Regions from separate parts of the Homo sapiens genome. Here all the other regions are linked to region 5. Evidence: promoter capture Hi-C in 16 types of primary human blood cells and fetal thymus (Javierre and others, 2016). All regions are on one chromosome and are shown on one strand. The core of a region is centred on a gene start or on the middle of the fragment in contact, and the rest is flanking DNA. Distances in the headings are between cores, read along the strand shown. Region 1 has its middle 21 kb from the start of ALPG. Region 2 overlaps ALPG (alkaline phosphatase, germ cell). Region 3 has its middle 12 kb from the start of ALPP. Region 4 overlaps DIS3L2 (DIS3 like 3'-5' exoribonuclease 2). Region 5 holds the start of NPPC (natriuretic peptide C). Region 6 has its middle 36 kb from the start of ALPP. Region 7 overlaps LOC124906123 (a long non-coding RNA gene).

Region 1 (2,700 bases), core at 64-2,563, 500 kb after region 5:
TCATAAAGACAAATGCAAATCTTAAAGTTTAGCTTTGAGACCTCTCCCATTTTCTCAGAAATCTCATTTGGATCCTACTGTGTCTTATAAACCTGTGAGTCTGTATTAGTATGTTTTGCTGTCTCATGACCGAAACGCTCAAATTAAAGCCATAAGGTCTTATTTGTGTGTATCTATGTTTATGTATGTTTTTGCATGTTGTATGTTATGTCTCCAATTTGAAATCTGGCACAATAGGCCAGAAATTCCTTAAGGAATTCTATTCAGTTTAACTTAGATTAATTAAACTTGTTAAAATATATAGTGAGCAGGGCATGGTGGAGCATGCCTGTATTCCCAGCTACTCAGGGGGCTAAGGCAGAAGGATTACTTGAGCCCAGGAGTTCAAGGACAGCCTGAGTGACATAGCAAGACCCCATCTCTAAAAAAAATATGTATATAGGCTGGGTGCGGTGTCAAACATCTTTAGTCCCACCACTTGGGGAGGCTGAGGTCGGTGGACTGCTTGAGCCCAGTAGCTGGAGTTCGAGATAAGCCTGGGCAACATGGCAAAACCCCATCTCTATAAAAAAAATACAAGAATTAGCCAGGCATGGTGGTGTGTGCCTGTAGTCCCAGCTACTAGGGAGGCTGAGGCAGGAGAATCACTTTAACTTGGAAAGTAGAAGCTTCCATGGGCTGTGATTGTACCACTGCACTCCAGCCCGGGTGACAGAGTGAGACCCCATCTCAAAAAAAAAAAAAAAAAAAAAAATATATATATATATATATATATATATATATATGCACACACACCTGTGTAGATACATACATATATAAATACATGTATACATATTACATATACATACATATATAACATAGTAATTAACCCAAATACCTTTTAGTTCATGCGATTTAACTACATCTTTGATAAATAAGCTGGTTTTAAATTTGTTGATAAAATAAAAATAGAAATATCTTTAGCATTTTCTTTTCTTTCTTCATTTCTTCCCTCTCTCTTCCTCCCTCCCTCCCTCCCTTCCTTCCTTCTTTTTTTTTTTTTTTTTTTTTTTTTTTTTTTTTTTTTTCTCTCTCAGAGCCTCTCTCTATCACCCAGGCTGGAGTGCAGTGGTGCAATCTCAGCTCACTGCAACCTCCACCTCCCAGGTTCAGGTGGTTCTCATGCCTCAACCTCCTGAGTAGATGGTACTATAGGTGCTCATCACCACTCCTAGCTAATTTTTTTTGTATTTTTAGTAAAGAATGGGTTTTGCCATGTTGGCCAGGCTGGTCTCAAACTTCTGGCCTCAAGACAAAAAACATTAAAATTAAAATTAAAATTAATTTAATCAAATGCCTGGCCTCAAGTGATCCACCCGCCTCGGCCTCCCAGAGTGCTGGGATTACAGGCGTGAGCCACCACGCACGTCCATCTTTAGCATTTGCAGTGTACATTTTCCCCTCGGTTTGTGGGTCAGTTAGGATCATACGTGTCTCTGCTAGATGCTTCAAGGTCCTAAAACTGTATTTTATTTTTTATTTTTTGTGAGACGGAGTCTCACTCTGTCACCCAGGCTGGAGTGCAGTGGTGTAATCTCAGCTCACTGCAACCTCCACCTCCAGGGTTCAAGTGATTTTCCTGCCTCAGCGTCCTGAGTAGCTGGGATTACAGACATGTGCCATCATGCCCTGCTAATTTTTGCATTTTTATTAGCGACGGGGTTTCACCATGTTAGCCAGGCCGGTCTCGAACTCCTGACCTCAAGTGATCTGCCCACCTCGGCCTCCCAAAGTGCTCAGATTACAGGCGTGAGCCACTGCGCCTGGCCTAAGGTCATAGAAAAACTTTAAACCCAACCTAAAAACAGTGATCTTTGTTTGTGTAGTTCTTTGATAAATAAAACTAATTTAGTATTGCTGGTTTAATGTAAACAGCTCTGTCTTAGGAGTTACTGGCAAAATATCCATGTATTTAACTTTAAGCTTCTTAAGTGAACACCTGAGAGTCACAGGCTATGAAAATAGTGAACAAGAAAATACCCGGAAATGAGTACTAGCTTTGTGTAATATCTCAGTATTCATAATTAGTGGAGGTATAATTGTTAAAAATATAAATTAGGTAAATGTAAATAGGATGAATGTCTATAAATGAGCTTTTCATAGAATTTGAAATCTTTTTTTCTTTTTTTTTGAGACAGAGTCTCCTCTGTCGCCCAGGCTGGAGTGCAGTGGTGTGATCTCGGCTCACTGCAATCTCCACCTCCCGCGTTCAAATGATTCTCATGCCTCAGCCTCTTGAGTAGCTGGGATTACAGGCATGCGCCACCACACGCAGCTACTTTTTGTATTATTGGTAGAGACGGGGTTTCACCATGTTGGCCAGGCTGCTCTCGAACTCCTGGTCTCAAGCAGTCCTCCACCTCAGCCTCCCAAAGTGCTGGGATTACAGGCATGAGCCACTGTGCCTGGCCAGACTTTGAAATCTTAAAGTCATGTTATGCTACCTTAACTGACAGATACTCATTAAATATATTGGTCATTTCCAAGTAAGAGAAAACACAAAAACATAAATTGCTGAACACAAATATGTTTGTTTTTGGCTTCTTCTTTTTTTTTTTTTTCTGAGACCAAGTCTTGCTCTGTCGCCCAGGCTGGAGTGCAGTGGCGCGATCTTGGCTCACTGCAAGCTCTGCCTCCCGGGTTCGCGCCATTCTCCTGCCT
Region 2 (2,700 bases), core at 193-2,692, 480 kb after region 5:
CCGCCTGCCTGGAGCCCTACACCGCCTGCGACCTGGCGCCCCGCGCCGGCACCACCGACGCCGCGCACCCGGGGCCGTCCGTGGTCCCCGCGTTGCTTCCTCTGCTGGCAGGGACCTTGCTGCTGCTGGGGACGGCCACTGCTCCCTGAGTGTCCCGTCCCTGGGGCTCCTGCTTCCCCATCCCGGAGTTCCCCTGCTCCCCACCTCCAGTCGTCCTGCCGGACCTCCACCTGGAGCTGTCACCCCCGGAGTCGCCACACAGACGTCCTGCCATGGAACCTTCCCCTCCCGGTGCACCCTGGGGACCGAGCCCTTGACACCACGCCCTTTGCTTTATCTTGCTCTTGAAATTTTGGCCCCAACTCCAGGGACTGGGGATTTGTGCCTGGCAGCTGCCTGCATTTCAGGAAAAGAGGAGGCTCAGACCATCCAGCCCCCGCCCATATCCTGAGGTGGATCAGGCAGGCTCTCTCCCCGGGGACATGAGGCACCCATACCTAGGACCCCCTGCGCCTTTTTTAGCTTCAGTCATGGCAGCACCTGAGGGACACAAGGACTTGGGTGCATCAGGACGCCTTGGAGAAGCGTGGCTTCCTGCCACCCTGCAACCCACCCTCCCAGCCAAGGAGGCTGCTGTGGTGGGGATCCCCAGGGGGGCTTTGACACAGTCCTCTGCTGTCCCTCCACTGGGCTAATTCTACACCCCTGTGCCCCTCCTAGGGGCCCATGAGTCAGAGAGGCTTGCCCCAAGTCACAGCCACTCAGATGTTCGACGCCCCCTAAGGTCCATTCCAGCACCCACCTGAGTTCCGAGGAGCACCTGGGAAGCTCTGGGTGCAGGATAGCAGTCCAGAGTCCATGGCCCCGCCTAGGCCATCTGGGTGCTGGGCATGGATTTCTCAGCAAGGAAGACTCATTACCTTCCCTCCCTGGGCCTCCATTCTTCTGGGAAACACAAAGCAATAATAAAAGGAAGTGTTAGACAATGTAATGCCAGTACTACTTCCTAGCATAAAAATCATGACTGAATGTGGACACAGTGGCTGGAGGGGTGGATAACACAGGCCAGGAGGGGCTGCTGAGGAGCAGATGACTGAGCAGGAGACCTGAACAGAGTCGGGGCTTGAGCAAGGTGGCACAGCAGCACAAAGGCCCTGGGGCAGTGTCAGCAGGCTGTCTGGGAGGCCAGGGGCTGGATCAGAGGGTGGGTAGATGGGGTAAAGCTTGAGGGGTCAGGAGGGTGGGGGACATGGGGGACCGTGAAGTCTAGGTAGAGGGGTGTGGTTGGAGGTCTTTGAGGAGGGCTGTGACCTGCCCTGGCTGGGAAATGAGCACTCTGGCTGCTGCCAGGAGAAGGGTCTGGTCTTTTGGATAGAGGGTGGGGGTGGTGGAGGGTAGAGGTGAGAGCTGGGGAAGGAGCTGACTCCAGGTGTTTCTGACCTCCCTCCGAAAGCATTCTGGAGCACCCATCCCAATACAGCCATACTTAGTATCACACTTGCCCCAAGAGAACATTGAAAAGAATTAAATGAAGGTGAAATCAACCACATTTTCCAGGAAAGTTTACATTATTACAGATTTATTTGTACATTTACAATGGTACAAGGAGCACTTTGTCAACATGGTGAAATTCTGTCTCTACAAAAAATACAAAAATTAGCCAAGCTTGGTTGCCCATGTCTGTGGTCCCAGCTACTCAGGAGGCTGAGGTGGGAGGATTGTCTGGGGCCTGGGAGGGTGGAGGCTGCAGTGAGGTGCGATCACGTCACTACACTTCAGCCTGGGTGACAGAGCAAGGCCCTGTCTCAAGAAGAAAACAAAACAAAAAGACTTTGTACTCACTAGAAATACTAGAATGATTGAATACTTCTTTATGAAAATTGAATTAACATTGTAAGACGTCTATTTGCCAGGCATGGTGGTTCAATGCCTGCAATCCCAGCACTTTGGGAGGAAAAGAGGTTAGGATTGCTTGAGTTCAGGAGTTGCAGACCAGCCTGGGCAAATGGTGAGACCTCACCTCTACACGTTTTCGTTTAGTGTTGAGGCAGAGTCTCACTCTGTCTCCCAGGCTGAAGTGCAGTGGCAGGATCTAGGCTCACTGCAAACTCCACCTCCTGGATTCAAGTGAATCTCCCGCCCCAGCCTCCCATGTAGCTGGGATTACAGGCGCCTGCCACCATGCCAGGCAAATTTTTGAATTTTTAGTAGAGATGGGGTTTCACTATGTTGGCCAGGCTGGTCTCAATCCTGACCTTAAACGATCCGCTCGCCTTGGCCTCAGAAAGTGCTGAGATTACAGGCATGAGCCACCATGCCTAGCCCCAGATTTTTAAAAAATTTAGCCAGGCCAGGTGGCACGTGCCTGTCATCCCAACTACTTGGGAGGCTGAGGCGGGAGGATCACCTGAGCCCAGGGTAGTTGAGGCTGCAGTGAGCTGAGATTTTGCCACTGCACTCTAGTCTGAGTGACAGACCAAGACCCTGTCTCAAAACAAAACAAAACAAAACAAAACATGTATTTGAGAACCTGGGTTTCAGGACAGTTTTTTCAATTCTGGGTTTCAGTGGCTGTCACAGAAATATGGGAGGTGAACAGAAGATAGACTCAAATAGCTGGCCTTACTAAATTATCACACTCATTGTTAAATTCCATCCATCAAGTATGCAAAGGTTTCTGGTAAAATCCAGCTAGTATAT
Region 3 (2,700 bases), core at 33-2,532, 460 kb after region 5:
AATCGCGGCCAATAGGAGGTGACTTGGGTTTAGCCTGTGACCACACAGTCCTGGTCACCCTGCACAGACTGCCAATAAAGAGGGGTCCGAGGCCCAGCTCCTTGGCTCCCCTGCAGTGTCTCCAAAAGGGAAGCTGAGGCTGTGGGTGAGTGGGTGATGCCAGTGGTCCAGGCCCAGTTCCACCTTGCACAAAGGCCTTCTTAACCTTTCATCGAAAAATATTTCTGCAAGGACATCTGCCCAGCAACCACCCGTCCATCCTCAGACTGGTGCCACGCATATCCTTGATCCTTGTAGCCAAGGATAAATATCTCAAAACAATCCTGTGATCCTCCTCCATTTTCCTTTAAAAACCTTTGTCTTCCTTCACCTCCCTAAATTCACACGTGCTTTCCTATGGCCTGCTTATTCCCAAGCAATACCTATTTCCAAAGAAAGTTCATTTTATTTTAGAGTCTTTCTGTATTTGTTATGCAGTGTCACATAGCGGAGCCAGAAGTGGGACCGAAGTGAATTCATCTTGGATGAATCAGCGTGTCCTGGAATCTAACGCAGTGTTGACTGAGCCCCCCGCAGACTGCCTTTCCAGGAGTTGCTTTTCTGTTCTGGTGAATCTCCTCAAATACCCAGATTCCCTCCCTTTGGTCAGTTCCTTTTTACTTTATCCTGGATGTGATTTGATTATAAGGCTCCCTTAAACAAAGGACCTTGCATCCCTCCTGAGGGTATAAAGGTTGGGTTTCTTTCTTTCTTTCTTTCTTTCTTTCTTTCTTTCTTTCTTTCTTTCTTTCTTTCTTTCTTTCTTTTTTTTGCTTCTTTGCTTTTGGCAAGCACTTTCTGGTGTAAAGAGCAGTGCCCTTCTGGTTTGAGGACTCTGAGTTCTAAAGAATTTATGTTCTGTCCATGAGGCAAGTCTTTCCTGGTGAATTCACTTTTGGTTCTGGATGCCTGACTGAATATTATGTTTGATGTGTACACCTTGGTTGAAATTTTGTGAGCATTCTGATTTGGGTTTGATTTTGGTTTGGTTTCCCACGTCTTTAAATGATTTGGCTCATTTTTTTTTCTTGCTTGTTCCTGAACATCTTCTGATCATCCCACAGCAAAAATAAACATAAATAGTTTAGCACCATAGGAAATGTTAAAACACACGTACACACGGTGAGGGTCGGCCCCTCGAGGTGGCTCCTGTCTGTAATCCCTGCACTCTGGGAGGCCAAGGTGAGAGAATGGCTTGAGCTAAGGAGTTGGAGACCAGCCTGGGCAACATGATGAAACCCCACCTCTACAAATAACACAAAAATTAGCTGGGTGTGGCAGCTCCCACCTGTAGTCCCAGCTATCAGGAGGCTGATGTGGGAGGATTGCTTGAGCCCAGGAGGTCGAGGCTACCATGACTTGTGGTCCTGCCACTGCACTAAAGCCTGTTTAACAGTGAGAATTGTCTCAAAAAATACACATATGGTGAGTGTGAGAAAGCCAACTGAAAGAACCCAGGGTGTCACCACCATCTAAAACACTGGTCCAGACTCCTGACAGTCCCTGACAGGGTTTATAGGATTTTCTTTGCTTCTCAGAGATGAAAAAGAAATGGAATGGCATTCTCAGACACTAAGGCGTGCCAGATTTTCTGGGACTCCAGGCAGCTACATGGCTTTCCCTGTGCACATTTCAAAATCAATGGCCATCATTGGAATCATTTGAACTCCTCAAATTTGCTTTTTCCTAATACTGAATTTTTAAACTGCCAACTACAAAGTTAAATGGAGAGCCTTCTAAGTTGTCTACTTCTGTCTCTCTCTTTTCTGCCTACTTGGAATCTGCTGACATTTCTGCTGGCATTAAGATAAACTGATAATATCACACTCCAGCCAACATAAAAACCACTAAGGAAGGGGTCTTGAAGGGCTTTCAAATTAATGGCTCTATAAATTACAACAGCTCCGTGGCAAACAACAACCTAGAGACCTTTTGGAAATGTAAATTCAGGTTTGCCTAACAGTTGCTTCGGGTGATGGAACAGTCCACGGAAGGATTGATATTAGAAAAGAACAGAATGAGAGAAATGTTTATAAATGTTAGGCACCCAGATTAAACAGGTCAAAATCATGAGCTCAGAGCAATAATGAAAAGGATCTCTGTTTCTGGCATAAAAACTGCTTCTCTGCTACACAGGGGCCAGGAAGAGCTGAACGAACTGCTAAAATGCTTCCCACCGGCACGGAGCTGTCAAGCAACTGAGAGTGGCAAACAGAAGAGAAATTTGTTATTGGACTTTTCAAAACTGCTAGGAGATTTTGTTTCTTGTACAAAATCCAGCCAGTCCTAGCTAAAATTAAACAGTTAGTATTTAATCCTTAATCTCATTTGAAACTGAAAAAGGATAAAGGTGGGCTCAAAGAGATTAAAATAAAAACCAGAAAACTAAACTGCTTGCCAGGCGCGGTGGCTGATGCCTGTAACCCCAGCACTTTGGGAGGCCAAGGCACGTGGATCACTTGGCATCAAGAGTTCCAGACCAGCCTGACCAATATGGTGAAACCCTGTCTCTACTGAAAATACAAAATTAGCCAGGTGTGGTGGCGCACGCCTGTAATCCCAGCTACTTGAGAGACTGAGGCAGGAGAATTGCTTGAATCTGGAGGCTGAGGTTGCAGTGAGCCGAGATCGAGCCATTGCACTCCAGCCTGGACAACAAGA
Region 4 (2,700 bases), core at 43-2,542, 330 kb after region 5:
GTCGCCTATTTCAGCCATTTACTTAGGTCAAAAACCACGGGGTCATTCTTGACTTTGGTCTTTCTCTCATGCTACATCTGCATCCAGTCTGCCAGTGTGTCATCGCTGCTTTGCTTTCTGAATGCCTCCAGAATCAGCCCCCTTCCTTAACTACCGGCACTAATACCTGCGTCCAAGCTATTCTCTCTCACCTTGACAGATACAGTGGCCTCCTGACTGTCCTTGCAGCCTCTGCTCTTGCCCCACGTCATCTCCTCTGCATACAGCTGTCAGAGTGATCCTTCTGAATCTTAAGCCTTGTCTCTCCATTAAAACTTTCCAATCTCTCATTCACAATAAAAGATAAAACGCCCCCTTACAATGGTAACTTTTTCCTTGTTCTTTTCTGCCTGTCTTCTGTGCTGGAAATGCATAGACTCCAGAGTCTTCCTGCAACCAGCATCTCCTCTCATGTCCTGGAGCATTGCTGCTCACAGGAGAGAAGCTGCCTTTTATGTGTAACTGAGCTCTCTGCTGTGCTGCAGGCCCCCTCCCCAGCTCCAGGGACCTGACATCAGTCAAGGTTGAGTTTCCCCACCTGCCATCTTCTCATATCCTTCAAGCCTCTGCCCCTTCCTTGTAGCTGAGCAGATCTTTTCCTCCCTGCTTAACTCATTCCATTCTGAGAATTGGACATTGTAGAACTATGTTGTGTACCAGTTGGGGCTTTCTCAGCTGAACCTTCAGTGCTACTTGGGAATCCTTTTATTCGTCACTAGGTTCCAAGCCTTTTTTCTTCGGTTCCAACCTCAACCTTGCTTTCCACTCCTCTTTCCTTTAAGACCCATCATTCTCCCAAGTACCTTTCATTCCTCCTTCTTGGAAACGAGAGAGGCTAGCCAACTTCAACTGCTGAGGTCCCCCTTTCCACATCAAAATTTCTCTCTGCCTTGCCGCTACTTAGGAGGCTGAGGCAGGAGGATCACTTGATCAGATTGAGAACAGATCGAGACCCTGTTTCTAAAATATAAATGAATGAATAAATAAATAAATATTTGGCTGGGCATGGTGGCTCATACCTTTAATCTCAGCACTTTGGGAGGCTGAGGTGGGCAGATCACCTGAGGTCAGGAGTTCAAGACCAGCTTGGCCAACATGGTGAAACCCTGTCTCTACTAAAAATACAAAAATTAGCCAGGCATGGTGGTGGGCACCTGTAGTCCCAGCTACTTGGGAGGCTGAGGCAGGAGAATTGCTTGAACCCAGGAGGCAGAAGTTGCAGTGAGCCACCTGTGAAGAGAAAGCGAGCATTCTGCTGGGTGTATAAGTGGATTGTGTGCAATGGTGCTTCAGTCTAGATATTCATGCCTTAATCTTACTGTGTTCGTCTCTCCCTTTTTCAGGGGAAGCCTGAGCTTTGCTTAGTGATGATGGCCCTAGTGTGAGGACTGGGGCTTGTGGAGTAGCCTCTTGTTTGCTCTAGCCACCCCACTGCCTCTGTCCTCTGCAGTTACTAGGACCTTCCCTAGCAAGTTTGCGTCCTTTCCACCACAGGCATGACCTGCCTCTCTCTGCTCTCTTCCAGCCCGTCCTCTCTCTGCCTAGTCCTTTTCAGACACTTGCTTCTTGGCACCTTTGACTTTTCTCACTGCCGGGCTGCCCCTACTAAGGATGATTGCCCTGTTTTCGTAGCTCTAAGAAGCAGCCAAAATCCACTCCACCTCCCTCCCACCCTCCGTCACTCCAAACAGCCTGGTTTTGTTCCAGTCAGGAAAAGGTTTCTTTCTTCCTCATATTTTTTTGAACAAAATATTTTGCATACGGAAGCCCGGAGCTCCTGCAAAAGTGATTTTGTACCTAATTATTTAAGATTATAAGTTAACCCCACTTGCAGTTTTTTCAGCCAGAGATACATCTTAATGAAGTGCTGACATTTTTCAGAGGATAAATTTAAAGATACATTTGAATGGAACTGAATAATTTTCAAAGGAAGTGGTCATACTTCTGTATCAATATAGAAAGTTGATGTGTGTTTGAGACATACTTGGTTTATTTTACTTCATCATCTGCCTCTGTCTAATTTATGACCTTCACCTGAAATGGAATAAAAGTAACACTAGATTTTGGGTCTGTCTTTAACTGGATCTGGTCTTGGCCGCCACTTAGGAGTTTGTATGACTTTTGACAAGTTCCTGGCCTGTTTTCTCAACTGTAAAATGGGCTGAACAATGCACTCCTCCCAGATGTGTTAAGGAGATTTTAGAAGTAGTAGGTTTAAGAATACTCCGAGTGTTAGACTACTTCCGGTCTTACTTAGTACAGTAGGTAGGCCTTGAATTACAGTGCTGTAGTACATAATTATGTACTCCTTTTTCAGTAGTTTTTTCCCAGTAATACGCCTTCAGTCAGTGTTGGCACTGTATTTAATTTGACATTCTGAACAGTGGTATTCCAGAGTATGTGCAGTAAACTCACCTGCCTACAGAAGAGTGACCCAAATCCTGTGATTAAGAAAGAAAAGAGGGGCCAGGTGTGGTGGCTCATGCCTGTAATCCCAGCACTTTGGGAGGCCAAAGCGGGCGGATCACGAGGTCTGGAGTTAGAGACCATCCTGGCCAACATGGTGAAACCCCGTCTCTACTAAAAATACAGAAAATGAGCCGGGCATGGTGGCATGTGCCTGTAGTCCCAGCTACTCAGGAGGCTAAGGCAGGAGAATCA
Region 5 (2,700 bases), core at 201-2,700:
AGGGCGCTCTGACAGTGCCAGCAGAGGGCTACTCTCACTACAGGGGGCATGGTGGCCAGCAGATGATCGATGTCCCCTGGACTTGTGGGTGTAACCTTCCTTCTCTGCTCCCACAAACCCATGATCTCCTCTCAATCCCCCCACCAGCTGGCCAATAGGGGCCAGTGCTGCTAGTTCAGCTACGGTTCAGGGGTGGGTGAGACACCACCAAGCCTGTTTCTGCTTCTCCAGAAGAAGCCAGGTGGGTTCAACCAGGCTGAGCCGTTTCTGACCTTGCCAAAGTTCCCCGATCACGTTATCCTTCGCTTTCTTTGTCTGTAAAGTGGGATAATAAAGGGGGCGGCTGGCAAACGCCTAGCACAACTTGAGCAAAGGCGGCTCGCGCGCCTCCGAAGGCCGGCTGGGCGGCGGGCGGTCCCGGGCCGGGCTGGGGCTGGGCGTCGGGTGGGCCGTACTCACCGCCGCCAGGGGGCGCCGCACTAACATCCCAGGCCGCTCATGGAGCCGATTCGGTCCAGCTTGAGGCCGAAGCAGCCCTTGGACAAGCCCTTCTTGTTGGCTCCTTTGTATTTGCGCGCGTTGGGGTGCTCTTGCAGAAGGCGAGCCCACGCTGCCCGCGACTTGGTGTCCACGCGCAGGTCCCGGAGCAGTCGCGACCGGTCGCCCTTGAGATTGGCGCCCCCGCCCCCGGGAGCCTTGTCGCCCTTCTTCTGACCGCCGCCCGCAGCCTGCGGCTCGGCCAGCTCCTCTGCCGGCGGGGTTCGCGGGACCTGTCCGAGGAAAGAGCGGGCAGGTGAAGGGACACGCGGCTGCAGCACGGGGGACTCTGATGCTCCAGCCCCACGCGCCCGCCGGCGCGGGGTGTCCCTCCCAAGCCCAGAGCCGCCCCCACCGATGCCGGCCAGCTTGGCCCCGCATCCACCTGCCACGCGGCCGCCTTCGCCGCTCCCTCCGGAAGCCCCCTGCCCTCCCTTTGCTGCTCGCCGGGCAGGCCACACTGGGGTAGGGGGCTGCGCATGGGCCGATGTTCTCCGGAGGCTGGAGAAGTGGACCCCCGAATCCGCGCTTCGAGGGCTCCCCGGCTCTCGCCCACGCGCATCTCGGAGGAGACAGCCGCCTGCCTTCCCTCTCTCCTGGGTCCTGCGCGCCGCATTCTCCAAGCCCCCAGCCTCCCACGCCTCTCCCAGGCTCGGCGTCCCCACGACAGCACCCACCTTCGGCGGCGCCCCGGGCTTGGCTTCGGAGGGCCGGAGGGAGAGCAGCGTGAGCAGCAGGGCGCAGGCCAGCAGCTGGGAGAGATGCATGGTGCCGCTGGGGTCGAGGGGCGCACACGGGCGGCAGCGAGGGCGCGCAGGTCGGCGGGCAGACCAGCAGGGGGATGCGGAGCAGGCTGGCTGGGCTGCAGGGCGAGCAGGGTCCCAGTGCTGCGCGGCGCCGGCTGGGTGCGCTCTGAGCCCGTGACTCTGCTCGCGCCTTTATAATCCAACCTGCCGCTGATGTCATCCTCCCGCCCACCGGGCCGCCCGGGCCAATGACACCACGCACGCGGCCGCGCCGAGGGCCGGGAGGGGGCCGCGGGGGCTCCCCTCCCTTATCCCACCCCGGAGGGATCCCGCGGCTCGGCGGGCTCGCTCCAGGCTGCACTTGGAGCTGCAGAGCTGAGCGCACAGGGGAACTCCATTTGCAGCGAGCGCGCGCCCTGGCCTGCCGAGCATCGGTGCGCCTGGTGCCCTGTGCACCCACTAGGTCCTCATCGCACTCACTCTACCTGGAAGGGATACGTAGCCCTCTTTGCAGGTGCAAAGACAGGCTCAGAGGAATGAAGTCACTTGCCCAAAGTCATACAGGCATAAAGTTGGCGCTGCCCGAAATCCACGCAGCCCTGCTTGTCGCCAAACTCTTCCCTGGGCACCTGACAGCCGCGGGATGGCATTGCAGCTCCGCCTTTCACCTGCCGGTCAGGGCGGGAGCGCAGACCACAGCGACGTCGTTAGGTTGGGGAGGCAGAGGATGGGGTTGGAGGACTGGGGTGGGAGGCGCAGGGAGAGCGGGGTTCGCCTGGGCCGCAGGGGGGAGCGCAAGTCTTCCACACTGGAGAGTGCAGGGGTGTCGCCAGCCTGAGTGTTTGAGCGCAAGGCGGGAACGAGGGGACTGCGAGCGCGGAACCAAGATATTCATGCTCATGCGTGTGCTCCGCGGCATCGTATGCTCGCCAGTTACTGCTCTAGGTTCACGTTCAGCCGGTTTCGGCCACACAGAACGTCCCGGGGTCTGACTCCGCTGGTGAACTCCCTCTGTGGGAACAATGCGCACCTGACCTTGCCTGCACCCACGCGAGGATCCGCTGCTGGGGGAAGCCCGCTCCAGTATCCTGTGCACTTTCACAGGCTGGGGAGAGAGCTTCCTAGCCAGCGGCCCAGTCCAGCCTCTGCCAGCCGTGACAGGTGGTCAACTTCCCGTTTTTGACTGTAGAGAGGTCCCCGTGGCTCTCGGGACATGGCCACATATCCCTACCACTCACGAACTTGCTCTCCTTGCACTGGGCTTCTCGGTCCCTTGGACACTAAGGAGTGTGGTGGGCATTTGGGCACTGCGGTGTGGGCCGCAGAGGCGGAGAGCCCAGATCCCCCGAATTGATTGAAGAGCAGGAATCTATGACTGGCTGCTGCTGAGCAGGACGCAGGCTGGAGAGAGAACAAA
Region 6 (2,700 bases), core at 38-2,537, 420 kb after region 5:
CCATCGTGAAACGAGAGGAGGTTGCTCCAAAAAGTTCCTAGAGAGCAAAACAAGGGCCCTTGGAGGCACAATGATTGCCACCGTGGAGACACATTTCAGCGCCACTAGAGTAAAAACACTGCAGACAGGTGAGCTCTCAACAGATACATGTCCCTCGCCTTCTCAGGAAAGATGGGCAGTAATGAGGGCAGAAGCCACAAAGAGGAAACCGTAGTGACAGGACCCAGGGTCCTTCAAGCTGCGGTGGGGCAAGCGCTCGGGACAGTGGTGAGGGAGCAGCTCAGCCCCAGGTGGTGCCTGGCAACCCGCCCCGGGACGTCCCACCCAGGGCAGCAGTAGAGTGACATGGATAGAAAGCTGAATTCCCCAGAAGAGCCTGGAGGACATTGAAGTACTTCGCATAGAGCCTCGGGTTGGATTAGTAGTACATACAGAATGATCCACATGTGAAGATAAGACCATGATTGGCTCCAGAGAAAACAGCAGTGCAAGCAAGAAGAGGTAGCTAGTCACAGTTTACGATCTGGCAATAGCGTTTACACAGTCATCACCATAGAAATGCCGAGTCAGGATCTAGTTTACTGCAGAACTCTATCAGGAGGACTGGAAGATGGGGACGCTGTCCACATGCAGGGAATGCAGTTGGTGAAATGGAAGCTAAATGCTCATTTTCCTCAGTGGGAAGCTGTGGCTTGAAGATGACTGTAAACTCTCTTTCCGCCTCTTCAATCTTGACAGGCCCCAGGGCTGCTAAGCTAATATGGCAGAAGGGACACTGTGCCAGTTGCAGGCCCAGGCCTTAAGAGACTGGCAGCTTCCCCTCTCTGTCTCTGGAAACCTACCTGCCCTTCTGTAAGGAAGCCCAAGCAGCTCTGGAGAAGCCCTTATGGAGGGGCCCACTCTCAGCCCACAGCCAGCACCAGTTGGGCAGCCACGCAGACCCCCAACCTGCAAGCCAGGCCCGCTGAGGCCTCAGTACACACAGGCAGTCCCATCAGCCCTGCCCAGATGGCAGTTTTGTGATCAAAATATAGACGATAGATGATTGTTTTTTAAGGTTGTTGGGGGTAGTTTGTCACACAACGATAGATAATAGAACATCAGTAGGCTGTGTGTGTGTGTGTGTGTGTGTAGCATATATATATACACATATACATATATACACATATACATATACACATACACATATATACACGTATACATATATACACATACATATATACACATATATACACATACATATATACACATACACATATATACACATACACACATACACATATACATATATACACATATATGCATATATACACATATATACATATATACACATAGCTTCAAATTCAGACATGAAGAAGTATCTTATTTAGCAACAGTGGTAAATAGTAAAACACCAAGAGAGAGGAAAGTGGTTGCCTCAGAGATGGGAAAATGCAAGGAGGGAGACGGAACTGCTGTTTGTTTTAACAAACCTTGTAGATCTGTTTGATACTTTAAACTACATTCACATATAACTTGGACAAAAGTAAAAACTGAAGTTGAAAAAAATGTATTCATGCTAATAGCACAGGAATGATCCACAATTGGATTCCAAGGCTTCTTGTACATTCAGCATAGGGTGTATGAAAGAGTCCACTATTCTAGCAACAGATAAAATTCCTACTGACACGCAACCTCAGGTTCCCACTCGTTTAGAAGGCTGCGTATGGTCTTCTACTTAAAGCCTCAAGTAGCAGTCATGGCAGTGACAAATCCTCATTGCCTCCATAGAACCTCTAGGCTCATGTGTGAGCCCAGGCTGGGCTGGGGCCCCTGGGAGCCCAGGGTGAGGGGCCAGTCCCTGGGCAGCTCCGTGAGCCAGGAGCAGCTGTGCCACCTGGGGAAGGGCTGCACGGTCGATGGGTCTTTTCTGCAGAAGAGTGTGCCCCAGCCCTTGCTGGGCACAGATCAAAGAGGTGTTCATGGGTCGAAATCACAGATTTCAAGGGCTGATAGGAGTCAGAGTGGGGGGGCTGGGAGGGCTGAGGCAGGTTAAAGATTTGAGAGGGGCTGCTGTGTCCACAGCTGCATCACACTGCTCTGCTGTCCCCTCCATGTTCCCCGGCACTGCCGCCTACCCTGGGGTCTTCTGGAAGTAACTGAAGGCCCCCTCAACCTGGCTCATCATCAAAGCAGACTGTTGACTAGCTGCAGGCAAATATGAAGAGGCTATTTCCTGTCACAAAAAGGCCATGCTGTATCTTTCTGAAGCTATGGAGCTGACGCAGGCTGAGTAGGCTCACCTTTCACTGGAATTGCAAAGGCCTAGCCACATGAAACCGCGCCTCCTCATCCAGGAGACACGGAAAAGGGCCCAGCAGAACGCAGACAAGGATGGGGCTGCCCATCTTCAGGCCTCTCACAGCCCCTCTGCTGAAGATGCAGAAGCACAGCCCTCCACAGAGGAACGCCTGCCTGAGACTCGGGGCATATGTGACAGGGATCCAGACACACGACTGTTTTTCCTTCAGCAACAGAGCCGTGTATTGGAAGCAAAGCCCCAAAACACGATAAGAGTAGAGGAGCAGACAACCCAGTTGCAGATTTGAAGAAGCATGTGGAATTCCTTGTGGCGGAGAAGGAAAGATTATGGAAAGAAAGTAAACAGGTAAAGGCTGAAAAGGCCAGACTTCTAAAAGGTCCAGTAGAAAAGGAGCTGGA
Region 7 (2,700 bases), core at 141-2,640, 450 kb after region 5:
GGAGGCTGAGGCAGGACAATCACTTGAACCTCAGGTGGAGGTTGCGGTGAGCCAACATTGAGCCACTGGATTCCAGCCTGGGTGACAGATCGAGACGCTTATCTCAAATTAAAAAAAATTAAATTAAAATTTGAAACCAGGGGACCAAGTTCTGTTGAAGACCTGGAAATTCCAGTAGGCTGAAGATCAGTGCAACCACCGTGGTCGGCCCTGTTGAGGTGCTGCTGAGCACCCACTCATCTGTGGGTGCTGCGGATTTACTACACTCAGATAAAGCCAGTGTTTCTGGAGTTCCTCCAGGGGAAACTGGTAGAGTTCAAAGCCCAGCCAAAGACCCTAAGAAATCATAAAGGGAACATACGCTTTTCTGGCTGTTACTGTTCTCCAGCGCCTTCTTGCCTCTGGATGGAAGGACAGCTCACTGCTTAGTATTTCACAAGCTCTTGCTTCATCCGCCAACTCATCCACTGTTGGATGTGTCACCGAAGCCAATCTGTCCTGGATCACAGCGACCCGTTAACCCAACAGTTCACAGCTTTTTGCATGTCCCTATCTGAACATCCAAAGACCCCTAAAAGAATTGTGGACTGGACTGAGTACTCCTTACGTGGACCCTTTTAGGGACCACGAAGCCCCCGTTTCTATTGGGCATCCCAGTTGGGCTATTCCCTTACCCTTGCTAAAAGAAGGCGAGCTCCTCTTTTCCCTTGATGGTGAGCCAGAGAGCACTCCATCTGATGGGCAGGCCTTAATGAGTCAGGAAGTCTTTCGGGCAGGTGTGACTTTGCCTGGATGTAGTAATAACCTAACTGATTCCTAGTTAGAAAGGACAGCCTTAGTGACTACTGCTACCCAAGACACAGACCTGTGCTCCTGAGGGCTGCCCTATGGATCAAAGCAAGCTAAATGGCGGCTGCTATGGCTGCCCAGCAAGTCCCTAGACTCCTTAGCTGGAGTAGTTTTATTATTATTATTATTATTATTATTATTATTATTATCGAGACAGAGTCTCGCTTAGTCACCCAGGCTGGAGTACAGTGGTGCAATCTCGGCTCACTGCCACCTCTGCCTCCCGGGTTCGAGCGATTCTGCTGCCTCAGCCTCCCATGTAGCTGGGATTACAGGCGTGTACCACCATAAATACCCTGCTAATTTTTGTATTTTTAGTAGAGATGGGGTTTCACTATATTGGCGAGGCTGGTCTGGGACTCCTGGCCTCAAGTGATCCGCCCACCTCAGCCTCCCAAAGTGCTGGGATTACAGGCGTGAGCCACCATGCCCAGCCTGGAGTAGTTTTAGATAACCGCATAGCTGTGCACTGTTTGCTTGCTGAACAAGGGGAGTGTGTGGAATCGCCAGCTCGTCTTGCTGTTCCCACAGTAATGCATCAACTGAAGTGGACATGTATGTTGAAATGACAAGACAGCAAGCCTCCTGGTGGCCTAGACTGCTTTTCAGGAGTATGTGGGGTTTTTTGGTTGTTGTTTTGTTTTGTTTTGGCAGGGTCTCACTCTGCTGCCCAGGCTGGAGTAGAGTGACACAACCTCAGCTTACTGCAGCCTCGACCTCCTGGGTTCAAGCAATCCTCCCACCTCAGCCTCCCAAGTAGCTGGGACTACAGGCATATGCCACCATGCCCAGCTAATTTTTACATTTTTTGGTAGAGACAGTGTCTTGCCATGTTGTCCAGGCTGGTCTCAAAGTCCTGGGTTCCAGCAATCAACCCACCTCGGCCTCCTATAAAGACGTGAGCCACTGCAGGAGGCTGAGGCAGGAGAATTGCTGACATATCCAGTTTCTTAGAAAAAAACATTTAATAGAGACTTACAAACAGAAGCTATGTCTGGGTCTCAGGTGGCAGTGAGACAAGATGGTAGCTTTACCCCCCAAGACCAAGGGCCACAGGGGAGGGGTGACCTCAAAGGGATGTGTAGGACAATTGAAATATGATAACATCAAAGTTGTTTTGTCCTAAGGGCAGGATTTATGGGAAGTAGGTGCTCCCGCACTAGAAACACGACATGAATGGGAAATCTCAGAGGCCCTCCGAGAACTGGCATTCATCAACCTGGTAGATCAGGCCCCAAGATGGAATTGCCTTGACACCCACACCACCTGAAATAATCTGGAGTACTGTTGGCAGCTGATGTGAGACTTTGGTTCTTGTCTTCTTAGCTTAAAATAATTTAAACAAGAGACACAACAGCAAAGGAGATGCAGCATACAATAATTTTTGCAAAAGAAAAAGAACATCTTGAAAGTGAAGTGCAGAATAGGCAGAGAGAAGAATTCAGGGCAGGCTGCTCATAAAGATGAGACAGCAAAAGTTGGCACTAGGGAGGCTCCCTTTATGGAAATCTTACATGATTATTCATGAGGGGTTGGGAAGAGGTGTTGCTAGTAAGCATGTTCTGGCCAAAAGCTATTAAAAGAAAAGGAGTGTCAAAAAATTTAGGCCGTGCTGGGGGTGGAGGCTCACACCTGTAATCACAGCACTTTGGGAGGAGAGGCTTAAGCCCAGGACTTCCAGACCAGCCTGGGCAACATGGTGAAACCCCATCTCTACCAAAAATGCAAAAATTAAATGGGCAAGGTGGCACACACCTGTAGTCCCCACTACTCGGGAGGCTGAGGTGGAAGAATCTCTTGGGCCCAGGAGGTTAAGGCTGCAGTGAGCCGTGATTGCCCCACTGCACTCCA

The links. The method cuts DNA at HindIII sites, captures the fragments that hold promoters and counts their contacts. A CHiCAGO score of 5 or more calls a contact.
Region 1: a fragment that was not itself captured here is called in contact with the fragment with the promoter of NPPC in region 5 in 3 of 17 cell types (total CD4 T cells, total CD8 T cells and naive CD4 T cells); the score reaches 6.9 in total CD4 T cells.
Region 2: a fragment that was not itself captured here is called in contact with the fragment with the promoter of NPPC in region 5 in 1 of 17 cell types (naive CD8 T cells); the score reaches 5.8 in naive CD8 T cells.
Region 3: a contact is called between a fragment that was not itself captured here and the fragment with the promoter of NPPC in region 5, in 8 of 17 cell types (naive CD4 T cells, naive CD8 T cells, endothelial precursors and 5 more). The highest score is 9.5, in naive CD4 T cells.
Region 4: a fragment that was not itself captured here is called in contact with the fragment with the promoter of NPPC in region 5 in 6 of 17 cell types (fetal thymus, naive CD8 T cells, neutrophils and 3 more); the score reaches 8.4 in fetal thymus.
Region 6: a fragment that was not itself captured here is called in contact with the fragment with the promoter of NPPC in region 5 in 6 of 17 cell types (neutrophils, monocytes, non-activated CD4 T cells and 3 more); the score reaches 9.0 in neutrophils.
Region 7: a contact is called between a fragment that was not itself captured here and the fragment with the promoter of NPPC in region 5, in 7 of 17 cell types (naive CD8 T cells, total CD4 T cells, total CD8 T cells and 4 more). The highest score is 8.0, in naive CD8 T cells.

What each region holds. Positions count from the first base shown.
Region 1 is chr2:232,426,126-232,428,825 of GRCh38, forward strand. No RefSeq gene overlaps it. Among named protein-coding and RNA genes, the nearest start is that of ALPG, 21 kb to the left of the region's middle. The HindIII fragment of the contact is 1,294 bases long and covers 667-1,960 here.
Region 2 is chr2:232,409,724-232,412,423 of GRCh38, forward strand. ALPG (alkaline phosphatase, germ cell) reads left to right here. Exons shown (of 11, transcript NM_031313.3): 11 at 1-991. The coding sequence ends at 149. Among named protein-coding and RNA genes, the nearest start is that of ALPG, 4.2 kb to the left of the region's middle. The HindIII fragment of the contact is 442 bases long and covers 1,222-1,663 here.
Region 3 is chr2:232,388,978-232,391,677 of GRCh38, forward strand. No RefSeq gene overlaps it. Among named protein-coding and RNA genes, the nearest start is that of ALPP, 12 kb to the left of the region's middle. The HindIII fragment of the contact is 7,652 bases long and covers 1-2,700 here.
Region 4 is chr2:232,255,800-232,258,499 of GRCh38, forward strand. The region is part of intron 12 of DIS3L2 (DIS3 like 3'-5' exoribonuclease 2); the gene reads left to right. Among named protein-coding and RNA genes, the nearest start is that of MIR562, 84 kb to the left of the region's middle. The HindIII fragment of the contact is 3,979 bases long and covers 1-2,700 here.
Region 5 is chr2:231,924,946-231,927,645 of GRCh38, forward strand. It overlaps NPPC (natriuretic peptide C), which reads right to left and starts at 1,451. Exons shown (of 3, transcript NM_024409.4): 1 at 1,215-1,451; 2 at 460-770. The coding sequence starts at 1,304. The coding sequence ends at 480. RefSeq lists silencers at 345-434, 515-564, 1,520-1,739 and an enhancer at 2,141-2,700. The HindIII fragment of the contact is 15,333 bases long and covers 1-2,700 here.
Region 6 is chr2:232,340,988-232,343,687 of GRCh38, forward strand. It overlaps a transcript of DIS3L2 not described here and the pseudogene NRBF2P6. Among named protein-coding and RNA genes, the nearest start is that of ALPP, 36 kb to the right of the region's middle. RefSeq lists an enhancer at 1,854-2,363. The HindIII fragment of the contact is 5,996 bases long and covers 1-2,700 here.
Region 7 is chr2:232,372,217-232,374,916 of GRCh38, forward strand. It overlaps LOC124906123 (a long non-coding RNA gene), which reads right to left. Exons shown (of 4, transcript XR_007088121.1): 2 at 675-2,700; 3 at 362-498. Among named protein-coding and RNA genes, the nearest start is that of ALPP, 5.2 kb to the right of the region's middle. The HindIII fragment of the contact is 3,123 bases long and covers 1-2,700 here.